Linked DNA regions of Homo sapiens: region 1 is linked to region 2. Evidence: promoter capture Hi-C in human tissues and cell types (Jung and others, 2019). All regions are on one chromosome and are shown on one strand. The core of a region is centred on a gene start or on the middle of the fragment in contact, and the rest is flanking DNA. Distances in the headings are between cores, read along the strand shown. Region 1 overlaps LOC124904625 (a long non-coding RNA gene). Region 2 holds the start of TNFSF14 (TNF superfamily member 14).

Region 1 (7,001 bases), core at 3,477-5,976, 420 kb before region 2:
GTTCAATCTAGGTCCTGCTGCTCACCACTGCACAGAAAGCCTATCGCTGAGACAATGAGTATTGCCAAGGAAGAAGGCTTTAATCAGCTGCTGCAGCTGAGGAGGTGGGAGAACAATCTCAAATCCATCTCCCTGACCAACTAAAATTTGAGGTTTATATAGCAGGGAAGAAATGTTACCATGTGTGGGAATACAGGAATTAGGGAAGGGTAAGGAAGAGGAGTTGGTCAACAGGAAGCAGGTGGTCAGTTAGGCAATCATGATGGGTGATGGGTCTGATGTCTCACTGTACAAATGCAGTATTCTGGTGCGTTTCAGCTCCTAGATACTATCTGGGAGGCCTGATGGTTGGTTTCCTGAGAAAGGAACTCAGATAAGATAAATGTAACTTTCTTAAGTTTTAAGATTGGGAAGATCAATTTGTTTGTTTATTCAAGGAAACCATAAACATCAGCAATATGGGAAAATTGGGCCAGTTTCACTTTCAGGTATTTAAAAGAAAAATCTATTGGATTTTGGATATCAATTCTTGTCCTTCACTTGGCGCTAAGTTCATGTCCCTACATAAGATACAAAGGGGGCCGGGCGCGGTGGCTCCCGCCTGTAATCCTAGCACTTTGGGAGGCCGAGGTGGGCGGATCACAAGGTCAAGAATTCAAGACCAGCCTGGCCAACATAGTGAAACCCCATCTCTACTAAAAATACAAAAATTAGCCGGGTGTGCTGGCGTGTGCCTGTAGTCCCAGCTACTCGGGAGGCTGAAGCAGGAGAGTCGCTTGAATCCAGGAGGCGGAGGTTGTAGTGAGCAGAGATGGCACCATTGCACTCCAGCCTGTGTGACAGAGTGAGACTCCATCTCAAAAAAAAAAAAAAAAAAAAAGAGATACAAAGGAAGCTACTGTTGGGATAATGTCATTTGGTCGTATTCCCATCAGAAACCTTAAGCTTTGGCCACAACCAGGACTCTTCATATAAAATGGTGATGGTGGTGGTGGGGAACCAGGGAAAAAGCGGAAAAAATTAAAGATTTTTTAAAAAACCCAAACCCAAAGCATAGCTGTCTTCTATTCCTGCTTTGGGACCTGGTCTTCAGGACTGAATTTAATTCTTCCACATCCATTCCACATTCTGCTTTCTCTCTGCCAGTCCCTTATCTGAATGGATTTTTATTTTTATTTTTTTTTGGGATGGAGTCTCACTCTGTCGCCCAGGCTGGAGTGCAGCGGCGCGATCTCGGCTCACTGAAAGCTCTGCCTCCCGGGTTCACGCCATTCTCCTGCCTCAGCCTCCTGAGTAGCTGGGACTACAGGCGCCCGCCACCACGCCCGGCTAATTTTTTGTATTTTTAGTACAGACAGGGTTTCACTGTGTTAGCCAGGATGGTCTCGATCTCCTGAGACCGGCCCTGAATGGATTCTTTACCCTGATAGAGTGATCTTATCTCGGATCAGGTTTTCTGGGAACAGATTTTGTGCTGGCAATTTTTTGTTTATTGGATAAAACTCCTGGGAACAACATCTTTAAAGGCATGCGAGAAGCGGAGGGGACAGATGAGGCTGACATGTAACTTGTCAACTGAGGCTGCCGTCGATCCCACAGGGAGTTCTGGTGCTGGGGTTGCCCTTCAGGGGTGTCCTACATTGAAACAAAGGCACTGGACCTTTGTACCCCCTACATCAACCAGTCACTGGAAGTAGGCAACCCCTGGAGAGAGAGCATAATCTTGGGTTGGGCACTTTCCTCTGGGCCTTGGGGAGTTCCCAGAGAGGACAGCAGCATCACCATCATCAGGCAACACCTCCAGCAGCTAGGGGAGTGCCTTAGTCTTTTCTTTTTTCTAGATGGAGTCTTGCTTTGTCACCAGGCTGGCGTGCAGTGGCAAGATCTTGGCTCACTGCAACCTCCGCCTCCCAGGTTCAAGCGATTCTCCAGCCTCAGCCTCCTGAGTAGCTGGGACTACAGGCACACGCCACCACGCCCAGCTAATTTTTTTTTTTTTTTTTGAGATGGAGTCTTTGTCGCCCAGGCTGGAGTGCAGTGGCGCCATCTCGGCTCACTGCAAGCTCCGCCTTCCAGGTTCACGCCACTCTCCTGCCTCAGCCTCTCGAGTAGCTGGGACTACAGGTGCCCGCCACCATGCCTGGCTAATTTTTTGTATTTTTAGTAGAGATGGGGTTTCACCGTGTTAGCCAGGATGGTCTCTATCTCCTGACCTCGTGATCCGCCGGCCTTGGCCTCCCAAAGTGCTGGGATTACAGGTACGCCCAGCTAATTTTTGTAGTTTTAGTAGAGACGGGGTTGCACCATGTTGGCCAGGATGGTCTTGATCTCTTGACCTCGTGATCCACCTGCCTCAGCCTCCCAAAGTGTTGGGATTACAGGCGTGAGTCACCACGCCTGGCCTTAGTGCCTTAGTCTTAAAGGAAGAATCTGGGAAATATGCCACTGAAACCATGCCTAAAGTGTTAAAGCAAAGACTAGCAGAAATTCTTGATGTGTTGGAAGCTGGTTCCTTCTGGTGGGTTCGTGGTCTCGCTGACTTCAAGAAAGAAGCCACAGACCTTCACTCTTAAAGATGGCACAGACCCAAAGAGTGAGCGGTAGCAAGGATTACTGTGAAGAGCAAAAGAACAAAGCTTCCACAGCTTGGAAGGGGACCCGAGCTGGTTGCCGCTGCTGGCTGGAGTGGCCAGCGTTTATTCCCTTATTGACCCCTCCCATGTTCTGTTTCTGTCCTATCAGAGTGCCCTTTTTTCAATCCTCCCTGCAATTGGCTGCTTTCAGGATCTTGCTGATTGGTGTGTTTTACAGACTGTTGATTGGTGCATTTTACAATCTTCTTGCTAGCTACAGAGCGCTCACTGGTGCGGTTTACAATCCTAGCTACAGAGTGCTGATTGGTGTGTTTTACAATCCTCTTGTAAAACAGGAAAGTTCTCCAAGTCCCCACTCGACCCAGGAAGTCCAGCTGGCTTCACCTCTCATTGAGTTTGCAGGATGGCAGGTAAAAAAAGAAATAACTTGCTAAAACGCTGAAACTGCCTCCACTTGTAACAAAACTGCCTAAAATCTGTGAGAACCCACATGGCCAAATGGAGTTTGTGCAGAATGAGCTTGCTGATGTCACAGTGCAAATTTCCACGTGTTTCATACAAACTCCCTTGAGTTAGTATGACTTTGCACATGGAACCCATGGGGAGGCATGAAGAGATCATTGCACCTGCCTGAGGACTTAACAGACCTTTCCTCCCACCAATCGCCTGCTAATCCCAGAATCCACGCCCTACACCTTTTCTAAGAAAATTATTGCCTTAAAGTCAGCATAAGACAAATTTGAGCTGGACTCCTGTCTCCTTGTTAACTTGCAATACAAACCTTTCCTTTTCTCAAAAATCTGATGTCATAGTATTGGCTTCTAGCACATTGGGTGAAGAGCTCTTTTGCTGGGTAGTGCCACCACTGTACCTACTGTGGTCCACCATGTGTGCCACTCAGATGCCCTGCATTCATTTTGTTTGTTTTGTTTTTGAGACAGAGTCTCCCTCTGTTGCCCAGGCTGGAGTGCAGTGGTACCATCTTGGCTCACTGCAACCTCTGCCTCCTGAGTTCAAGTGATTCTCCTGCCTCAGCCTCTGGAGTAGCTGGGACTATAGGCATGTGCCACCATACTCAGCTATTTTTTGTATTTTTAGTAGAAATGAGGTTTCACCATGTTGGCTAAGCTGGTCTCGAACTCCTAACCTCAAGTGATCTGCCCGCCTCTGCCTCCCAAAGTGTTGGGATTACAGGCGTGAGCCACTGTGCCCGGCCCCAGGATTCTTAAAGTAAGTGCCCTCAGGATCCAGGTTGGTCCCGTTGCCTGGAGAAACTGACAAGAGGAAGATCAGTGGGACAAACTGTAGACAGCCCTTTCCACCTGAACAAGTCTCAGAGATGCAATTGATGCTTATCACACTCCTTTACTTGCACCTTCCAGATTCCCTTTACCCTTGACTAGGGTGAAAATTCTAGATTTCCTTCTCACCTAGATCCTGCTGGTCTAGGTGGCTTACCTGGAGAGCTGCTCCAGATCCTTATGCCTACGGGGTCTTCACCATGCCCTTCTCAGGACATAGCTGGTGAAATTTTTTTATCTTTTTCTTTTTTGGAGACAGAGTCTCGCTCTGTTGCCCAGGCTGGAGTGCAGTGGCGCGATCTCGGCTCACTGCAAGCTCCGCCTCCTGGGTTCACGCCATTCTCCTGCGTCAGCCTCCCAAGTAGCTGGGACTACAGGCGCCTGCCAACGCGCCCAGTTAATTTTTTTGTATTTTTTGTAGAGACAGGGTTTCACCATGTTAGCCAGGCTGGTCTCGATCTCCTGACCTTGTGATGTGCCCACCTCGGCCTCCCAAAGTGCTGGGATTACAAGCGTGACCCACCACGCCTGGCCAAAATTTTTTTATCTTTAAAATTGGGGAAAGAATAGTAAGAGACATCCCAATGGATTCCGTGAATGCCAAATGTTTTCCTCCCTGCACTCATCATGTAACAGCAGCCTCAGATTCTATGGATGATAGCATTAATTACCTAAGTCAGTATGGTGACTTCTTTCCTTGTGTGCTGGTCTCATAGAAGTCACAGTTTAACATCCGATGAGACTCTTACTGTGTCTCTTGGTGGAAGTGTTTCCCTCTGGGAACCAAGTCCTTTAGGTTACTTCTCTTTTTTCTTTTTTTTTAGATGAAGTCTTACTCTGTCACCCAGGCTAGAGTGCAGTGGCATGATCTCGGCTCACTGCAATCTCCGCCTCCCGGGTTCAAGAGATTCTCCTGCCTCAGCCTCCTGAGTAGCTGGGATTACAGGCGCCCACCACTGTGCCTGGCTAATTTTGTATTTTTAGTAGAGACGGGGTTTCACCATGTTGGCCAGGCTGGTCTCAAACTCCTGACCTCGTGATCCACCGACCTCGGCCTCCCAAAGTGCTGGGATTACAGGGGTAAGCCACTGCGCCTGGCCAGGTTAATTATTTCTTTTGCTTTCCTCCCCAATGGCTCTGTTCCTCATCCTATACAGGAAACACTGGTGTTGGCAACTATGTTAGGCTTCATCGGGGAGTATCAGTGCATGGACACCACCCCAGGGTAGCTGAGCAACTGATAGAATTCCTGGGCTTGGATATGAACTTTCCATCCAGGTGATGGGCATGAGTAGATTCTGAGAAGCAAAAGGAGTGACCAATACTGGGTATCTTCCATTCGCCCCAGCAGATTCACCTCCTCTACCCTGCTGTACTTGGGATGATTAGTTACTATGAATGCTATCAACGAACTCCCTTACCTTATTGGCTTTTGGTTGAGTTTGGCAAATGGGGAACCCAAATATGATATAAGAAGAATGAAGGACAAGGAGGGCTGGCCCTGGCTATTTCTTTCTCTTTTTTGGTGGTGGTGGGGGGGTGGGGATGGAGTTTCACTCTGTCACCCAGGCTGGAGTGCAATGGCATGATCTTGGCTCATTGCAACCTCCACCTACCGGGTTCAAGCAATTCTCCTGCCTCAGCCTCCTGAATAGCTGGGACTACAGGCGCATGCCACCACACCCGGCTAGTTTTTGTATTTTCAGTAGAGAATGGGTTTCATCATGTTGGCCAGGCTGGTCTTGAACTCCTGATCTCAAGTGATCCACCCACCTCGGCCTCCCAAAGTGCCAGAATTATAGGTGTGAGCCACTGTGCCTGGCCGACCCTTACTATTTCTTGCAGAACTCGAGGCTGGATGTTGCCCCTCACTGACCTCCTGTCAGCTCCTGGAATGCAGCCCTCTCCTCGCTTGAACAACAACTTGCAGTTCTCTTCCTTTGTCCCTTCAGGCTTATGGGTGTCCTACGATCTGCCATTTGTTTGGAAGCTGGAGAACCAAGAAAGCTGGTAGTCTTGCTCCAGTCCAAGCTCAAAGACCTGAAAACAGGGGAGCCAACAGTGTAAACCCCAGTGTGAAGTCCAAAGGCTTGAGAACCAGGAGGGCCAATGGTGTAAGTTGCGAGTCTGAGTCTGAAGGCTGGAGAACCAGAAGCACCCGTATCTGAGGTGGGGAGAAGACCGATGTTCCATTTCAAGTACCTTTTGTGGTTTCCCTACATCCTGTTCACAATTCTGTGAGGAGCCCCTTGATATAAACTGCGCTTGAATCATCCCAGTTGACGTGTGTGTCAACTGTTTCCTGCTGGGACTCTTGATATTCCAACTTCCTGAACATGTAAGGAAAAGCCCTAACAATGACCTATAAAACCCCACAAGATCAGGATCTGCATCTCCGATTACCCTCTAATCCCTGAATCCCTATTTTACCTGAGTCATACTGGCCTCTGTGCTGTGGGTCTTTGCATGCCAACAGTCCTCTTGCCACAAGTTCCTACTCAATAGTCTCTCCTCAAATGCACCTTAACTGGGGGCCTTTTCCTTCCTATGCTACATAAAATGGAAAGTCCCCAGCCCTCCGTAACTCTCTCACAATGCTTTATTTTTCTGCACAACATGAATATTGTTGATTTTTCTTTTTCGATGGAGTCTTGCTCTGTTGCCCAGGCTGGAGTGCAGTGGCGCGATCTCGGCTCATTGCAACCTCCACCTCCCAGGATGAAGCGATTCTCCTGCCTCAGCCTCCTGATTAGCTGAGCGCACCACCACACCCAGCTAATTTTTTTGTATTTTTAGTAGAGATGGCGTTTCACCATGTTGGTCAGGCCGGTCTCAAACTCCTGACCTCATGATCTGCCCCAGCCTCCCAAAGTATTGGAATTACAGGCGTGAGTCACAGCGCCCGGCCATGTTGTTGATTTTTCTATAATTCACCCCTCCCCGTTAGGATGTAAGTGCCTCAATGGCAAAACTTGAGTTTCATTCACTGCTCTAGACATGGCATCTCAAACAGTGCTTAGCCACATGGAATGTACTCAATGAACAGGCTAGTGGTTATGAGAATCACCTGTCTGGATTCCAATCTGTGCTCTACCACTTACTAGCT
Region 2 (7,076 bases), core at 506-3,005:
TGAGGTGGGCAGATCACCTGAGGTCAGGAGTTCGAGACCAGCCTGGCCAACATATAGACAACATATATGTTACAACATATATAATGGCCAACATATAATACAAAAATTAGCTATGCATGGTGGTGGGCGCCTGTAATCCCAGCTACTCAGGAGGCTGAGGCAGGAAAATTGCTTGAATCCGGGAGGCAGAGGTTGCAGTGAGCCAAAATGGCACCACTGCACTCCAGCCTGGGTGACAAAGTGAGACTCTGCCTCAAAAAAAAAAAGAAAGAAAAAGGCTGGGTGCGGTGGCTTATGCCTGTAATCCCAGCACTTTGGGAGGCCAAGGCAGGCGGATCACGAGGTCAGGAGATTGAGACCATCCTGGCTAACACGGTGAAACCCCGTCTCTACTAAAAATACAAAAAATTAGCTGGGTGCGGTGGTGGGCGCCTGTAGTCCCAGCTACTCAGGAGGCTGAGGCAGGAGAATGGCGTGAACCTGGGAGGCGGAGCTTGCAGTGAGCCGAGATCGCACCACTGCACTCCAGCCTGGGCGACAGAGCGAGACTCCGTCTCGAAAAAAAAAAAAATCCACGCTTGAATGCATGCACACTCATACATGGACCTCCCCACACACATGAACACACCCGTGCAAGTGCGCACACACACATACACGCACCAATGCACAGGCACACACACATGCACACACCTGCACACAGCACATATATGCACACCCACTTGCACATGTGATGCATGTTCACACATACACACACGTGCACATGCATGCATGTACATGGACCACATGCACATGCACACAGATGACCATACACATATGCATGCACCTGCCCACATATGCACGCACATTTACATGCCAGCACATGTATGATACACAGGCATGCGCCTGCACATGTGTACATGATACACACTTGCATGCACACAACTGAATACACACATTCACATGCACACACTGCACACATATATGCATGCAGACAAGCACACACACAGAGCACACATCCACTCCTTTATTCCACTCTTGTGTTTTTCACTGCACTTGTCACATCAAAACACAACAGAAGGCCGGGCATGGTGCGGCTCACGTTTGTAATCCCAGCACTTTGGGAGGCTGAGGTGGGTGGATCGCTTGAGGTCAGGAGTTCGAGACCAGCCTGACCGACATGGTGAAAACCCATCTCTACTAAAAATACAAAAAGCAGCCAGGCGTGGTGGCACGCGCCTGTAATCCCCGCTACTTGGGAGGCTGAGGCAGGAGAATTGCTTGAACCCAGGAGGTGGAGGTTGTAGTAAGCTGAGATCGCGCCACTGCACTCCAGCCTGGGCAACAGAGCGAGACTCCATCTCAAAAACAAAACAAATAAACGAACAAAAAAACCCACAACGTATTATTTTCTTGTTTACGAGGTTTCTTGTCTCTCTGGCTCCACCAGAAGAGGAGCAGGGACCCTTCTTGCTGTTGTTCATTGCTGCATCCCCCACACCGAGAGCAGAGCCTGGCATGGGCAGAAAGTCCTCAGTCGATATTTGGTGGCCCCAAGCGAATGAAGCATCCAAGAAGGGAAAGCTGGGGGCTCCCCACTGCACTTGCCACCTGAGTCACATTTTCAGAAGCCTCTGGAAAGTGTGAGAGTCTGTATGAGTGAGAGTGAGACAGGGCCAAGACCGGGGGCGGCGGGTACCGGAAGAAGAGGAGGGTGAGTGGGGGAAGGGGTGGGGCTGAACCCCAGCTCTAAAGGCGGCCCACGGGTGCCTGTCCGCAGCGTGCACAGCCCAGGAGTGTTGAGCAATTTCGGTTTCCTCTGAGGTTGAAGGACCCAGGCGTGTCAGCCCTGCTCCAGACACCTTGGGCATGGAGGAGAGTGTCGTACGGCCCTCAGTGTTTGTGGTGGATGGACAGACCGACATCCCATTCACGAGGCTGGGACGAAGCCACCGGAGACAGTCGTGCAGTGTGGCCCGGGTGGGTCTGGGTCTCTTGCTGTTGCTGATGGGGGCCGGGCTGGCCGTCCAAGGCTGGTTCCTCCTGCAGCTGCACTGGCGTCTAGGAGAGATGGTCACCCGCCTGCCTGTGAGTGGGACCGGGGGGCTGAGAGCAGGTGGAGGTGAGGGGGGCTCCCCTGTGTCATTGTGGGTCACTGTGTGTCTGTGTGTGTGTGTGTGTGTGTGTGTGTGTGTGTGTGTAGGACAGGGCACAGGCTGAGAGCAGCTGGCTTGACTGGTTGCTGCTCCCAGCCTTGGGCAAGTGAATTCACCTCTCTGAACCTCAGTGTCTTCATCTACAAAATAAGGGCAGTCTCTTCATAGGGGACGAAGTATGCTATGGCATGTGTAGTACCAGACGATGCCAGCTCCACCCGTCGGAACTGACACCCCAACACTGCCATGCACACCCCTGTGCACACACGCATGCATTTTCTCTGTACTTTTTTATTTTTGAGACGGAGTTTCACTCTCGTTGCCCAGGCTGGAGTGCAATGGCATGATCTCTGCTCACCGCAACCTCTGCCTCCCGGGTTCAAGTGATTCTCCTGCCTCAGCCTCCCGAGTAGCTGGGATTACAGGCATGCGCCACCACGCCTGGCCAATTTTGTATTTTTAGTAGAGATGGGGCTTCTCTATGTTTGTCAGGCTGGTCTCAAACTCCCGACCTCAGGAGATCCACCCGCCTCAGCCTCCCAAAGTGCTGGGATTACAGGTGTGAGCCACTGCGCCTGGCCTTCTCTGGTACTCTTATTACTGTTACTGCGATTGTCATTAATTCTCTGACCATTTCCATCTGTGGAAATTTCTCGGTCTGCTTCCAGCTGGCTGTGGATGTGTCCGCCTGTCTGTGTGCCTCACCTGGGGGTCTATGTGTGCCCAACACCATACCCCTGTGGGCTTGGCCCCTTTTGTGTCCTGGGTCTGGATCCGGTGGCCACACATTCGTGTCCATATACCCATGTGGACGTATGTGCGTGTACCCACATGTCCACACACCCGCCTAGCTGCAGCCGGTGTATTCACGTTGTCTGTCTTTGTCTCTGGGTCTCTGTGTCTGTAGACGCACATGGATCCATAAACCACAAACCACATGTCCACGCATCTGAGCCCACATGTGTCTTCTCAGCGTCATGATGATGTTGAGGTCTGTGCCCTGTGGCAGGTGCTATATCCCAAGGGTGGTGTCCATGTGTCCAGCCATCTCGCTGTCTGCATTTTTTTTTTTTTGAGACAAGGTTTCTCTCCCATAGCCCAGGCTGTAGTGTAGTGGTGCAGTCTTGGCTCACTACAACCCCACCTCCCAGGTTCAAGTGATTCCCTTGTCTCAGCCTCCTGAGCAGTAGCTGGGATCACAGGCATCCGCCACCGTGCCTGGCTAATTTGTGTATTTTTAGTACAGACGGGGTTTCACCATGTTGGCCAGACTTGTCTCGAACTCCTGACCTCAAGTGATCCACCTGCCTCAGCCTCCCAAAGTGCTGGGATTACAGGTGTGAGCCACCACGCCTGGCCTTGTCCCTGTATTTTTAAATATTACTTATTTATTTAATTAATTACATATTTATTTATCTTAGAGACTGTGTCTCACTCTGCTTCCCAGGCTAGAGTGGAGTGGCACGATCATAGCTCACTGCAGCCTTGAACTCCTGGGCTCAAGCAAGCCTCCTGTCCCAGCTTCATGAGTAGCTGGGACTACAGGCATGCACCACCATGCCTGGCTAATCTTAAAAATTTTTTGTAGAGATGAGGTCTTGTTGTGTTGCCCAGGCTGGTCTTAAACTCCTGGCCTCAAGCTGTCCTCCCACTTTGGCCTCCCAAAGTGCTGGGATTACAGGTGTAAGCCACTGCTCTGGGCAATGTTATTTATTTATTAAACCCTTTTATTTATTTATTTATTTTTTGAGATAGAATCTCACTCTGTCACCTAGGCTAGAGTGCAGTGGCACAATCTGGGCCCACTGCAACCTCCCAGGTTCAAGCGATCCTCCTGCCTCAGCCTCCAGAGCAGCTGGGATTACAGGCACCCACCACCAGGCCCAGCTAATTTTTGTAGTTTTAGTAGATACAGGGTTTTACTGTGTTGGCCAGGCTGGTCTCGAACTCCTGACCTCAGGTAATCTGCCCACCTCGGCCTCCCGAAGTGCTGGGATTAGAGGTGTGAGCCAATGCACCCGACCTATTAAACCTTTCTCTAGTGCATACTATGTGCCAAGCACTGTAATAATGCCTTACATATGTGAATTCATTAAACGCCAAGCAGACACGATTCGTAACTCCATTTACATAGAGGGAAACTGAGGCACCAAGTGGTTGTGAGGCCTCTGGACAGGGGGTGTGTGTCTGCAAGTGAGAGTATGTGGCCCTGTGTACGTGTCTGAGGGTGGTGTCGGTGGCTATGGTCCTCATGTCTCATAGCCATGTGTGAGCAATGCGAGGGCGTGGCCCCCGCTGCAGGTTCTTACCGCAGGCCCCTTCTGCATTTTCAGGACGGACCTGCAGGCTCCTGGGAGCAGCTGATACAAGGTGAGTCAGGGTCCTGGCCCCAGGGAAGGAGGTGTGATGATTCCCATGCCACCCCCACCCCTCGGTCAATTGCCCAATATGATTTGCACAACTGGCCAAATCCTCACAGGTGCCCCTCCCCCAGGCCTGAGAAGCAGAAGTTTGGGTCACTCCGGAAGGGGTGGGGTTGATTCCAGGAGGTGTACACGGTGGCCCTTTAGGAGGCTGGCTTTTTACCTCCACTGTCTTCGTCTCTAACCTCTGACCCTCTTTCCCCAGAGCGAAGGTCTCACGAGGTCAACCCAGCAGCGCATCTCACAGGTGAGAGGGACCCTGGATCCTGGCAAGGGGCAGGGGTCAGGGCGTCTCGGGAAGACCAGATAAACGCCATACATATCAGTGTATTCATTCATTCATTGCTTATTTACTCACAGAGTTGCTCAGAACATAGGCTGCAAGTGCTATGTATTTCCAGTTTTATTTATTTTATTATTTTTTATTTCTATTTATTTATTTATTTATTTATTTATTTATTTTTGAGACAGTCTCACTCTGTTGCCCAGGCTGGGGTGCAGTGGCATGATCTCGGCTCACTGCAGTCTTCGCCTCCCGGGTTCAAGCGATTCTTCTGCCTCAGCCTCCCAAGTACCTGGGATTACAGGCATGCACCACCACACCCGGTTAATTTTGTTGTATTTTTAGTAGAGACAGGGTTTTGCCATGTTGGCCAGGCTGGTCTCAAACTCCCGATCTCAGGTGATCCTCCCGCCTTGGCCTCCCAAAGTGCTGGGATTACAGGCGTGAGCCACCGGGCCCGGCCTAGTTTTATTAATTTAATGAACTCTCATATAGTGCTTATGCTGTGTTATGTGCTGTGACACGCTTTCTACATATTAATTCATTACATTCCAAGCAGGTGCTATTAATATGCGCATTTTACAGAGAGGGAAACTGAGGCACACAGCGAGTACGAGGTGCCGCTTTGGTTTCTTGGTTTTGCAAACTTGCATGTTTGGACATTTTTTTTTTTTTTTTTTGAGACAGGGTCTTACTCTGTCAACTAGGCTGGAGTGGTGCTATCACGGCTCACGGCACCCTCAACTTGCCAGGTGCAAGCGATCCTCCCACTTCAGCTTCCCCAGCAGCTGGGACTACAGGTGCCTGCCACCATGCCCAGCTAATTTTTTTGTTTTTTGTAGAGACAGGGTCTCCCTATGTTACTTCATCTGGAACTCCTGGACTCAAACTCCTGGGCTCAGGGGATCTTCCTGTCTCAGCCTCCCAAAGTGCTGGGATTATAGGGGTGAGACGCCACACCCAGCCAAGTTTTGACACTTTTGGCAAATCACTTAACGGTTCCATGCCTCAGTTTCCCCACCTGCAAAAGAGGGATGCAAAGAGTTGAGATATAGACTAAGCAAGTTAATTTGCTTCCCTGTGCCTCAGTTTCCCTCCTCTGCAAAGCAGGGATAAAGCAAATTAATACATACAAACAGGCTAGGCAGGGTGGTGGCTCATGACTGGAATCCCAGCACTTGGGAGCCTGAAGGATCGGTTGAGCACAGGAATTCGAGACCAGCCTGGGCCACATTGTGAGACCCCCACCTCTACAAACACACACACACACACACACACACACACACACACACGCACACATGCACACACACACACAAACAGCCTAGTGGTGACTGGCCTGGAGTCACACAGCAGGAGTAAGACATGTGAGGCCGGGCGTGGTGGCTCACACCTGTAATCCCAGCACTCTGGGAGGCCGAGGCGGGTGGATCACCTGAAGTCAGGAGTTCAAGACCAGCCTCAGCAACATGGCAAAACCCCATCTCTACTAAAACTACAAAAAGTAACTGGGTGCGGTGGCGGGCACCTGTAGTCCCAGCTACTCAGGAGACTGAAGCAGGACAATCGCTTGAACCTGGGAGGCGGAGGGTGCAGTAAGCCGAGATCATGCCACCACACTCCAGCCTGGTCCACAGAGCGAGACTCTGTGTCAAACAAACAAACAAACAAGCAACAGAGGAAGACATGTGCTGACCGGCAGCCCCCTTTGTCTCTCTCTTCCCAACAGGGGCCAACTCCAGCTTGACCGGCAGCGGGGGGCCGCTGTTATGGGAGACTCAGCTGGGCCTGGCCTTCCTGAGGGGCCTCAGCTACCACGATGGGGCCCTTGTGGTCACCAAAGCTGGCTACTACTACATCTACTCCAAGGTGCAGCTGGGCGGTGTGGGCTGCCCGCTGGGCCTGGCCAGCACCATCACCCACGGCCTCTACAAGCGCACACCCCGCTACCCCGAGGAGCTGGAGCTGTTGGTCAGCCAGCAGTCACCCTGCGGACGGGCCACCAGCAGCTCCCGGGTCTGGTGGGACAGCAGCTTCCTGGGTGGTGTGGTACACCTGGAGGCTGGGGAGAAGGTGGTCGTCCGTGTGCTGGATGAACGCCTGGTTCGACTGCGTGATGGTACCCGGTCTTACTTCGGGGCTTTCATGGTGTGAAGGAAGGAGCGTGGTGCATTGGACATGGGTCTGACACGTGGAGAACTCAGAGGGTGCCTCAGGGGAAAGAAAACTCACGAAGCAGAG

The links. The method cuts DNA at HindIII sites, captures the fragments that hold promoters and counts their contacts. A contact is called where the count stands out against the background at its distance.
Region 1: a contact is called between a fragment that was not itself captured here and the fragment with the promoter of TNFSF14 in region 2, in 2 of the 25 tissues and cell types used here (adrenal gland and bladder).

The regions. Positions count from the first base shown.
Region 1 is chr19:7,088,298-7,095,298 of GRCh38, reverse strand. It overlaps LOC124904625 (a long non-coding RNA gene), which reads left to right. Exons shown (of 3, transcript XR_007067110.1): 2 at 2,848-3,004; 3 at 5,848-7,001. Among named protein-coding and RNA genes, the nearest start is that of ZNF557, 22 kb to the right of the region's middle. The HindIII fragment of the contact is 5,869 bases long and covers 1,792-7,001 here.
Region 2 is chr19:6,664,839-6,671,914 of GRCh38, reverse strand. It overlaps TNFSF14 (TNF superfamily member 14), which reads left to right and starts at 1,755. Exons shown (of 4, transcript NM_001376887.1): 1 at 1,755-2,064; 2 at 4,466-4,502; 3 at 4,761-4,802; 4 at 6,565-7,076. The coding sequence starts at 1,846. The coding sequence ends at 6,989. RefSeq lists a silencer at 626-725 and enhancers at 1,296-1,525, 1,906-1,995, 2,896-3,085, 3,146-3,235. The HindIII fragment of the contact is 26,746 bases long and covers 1-7,076 here.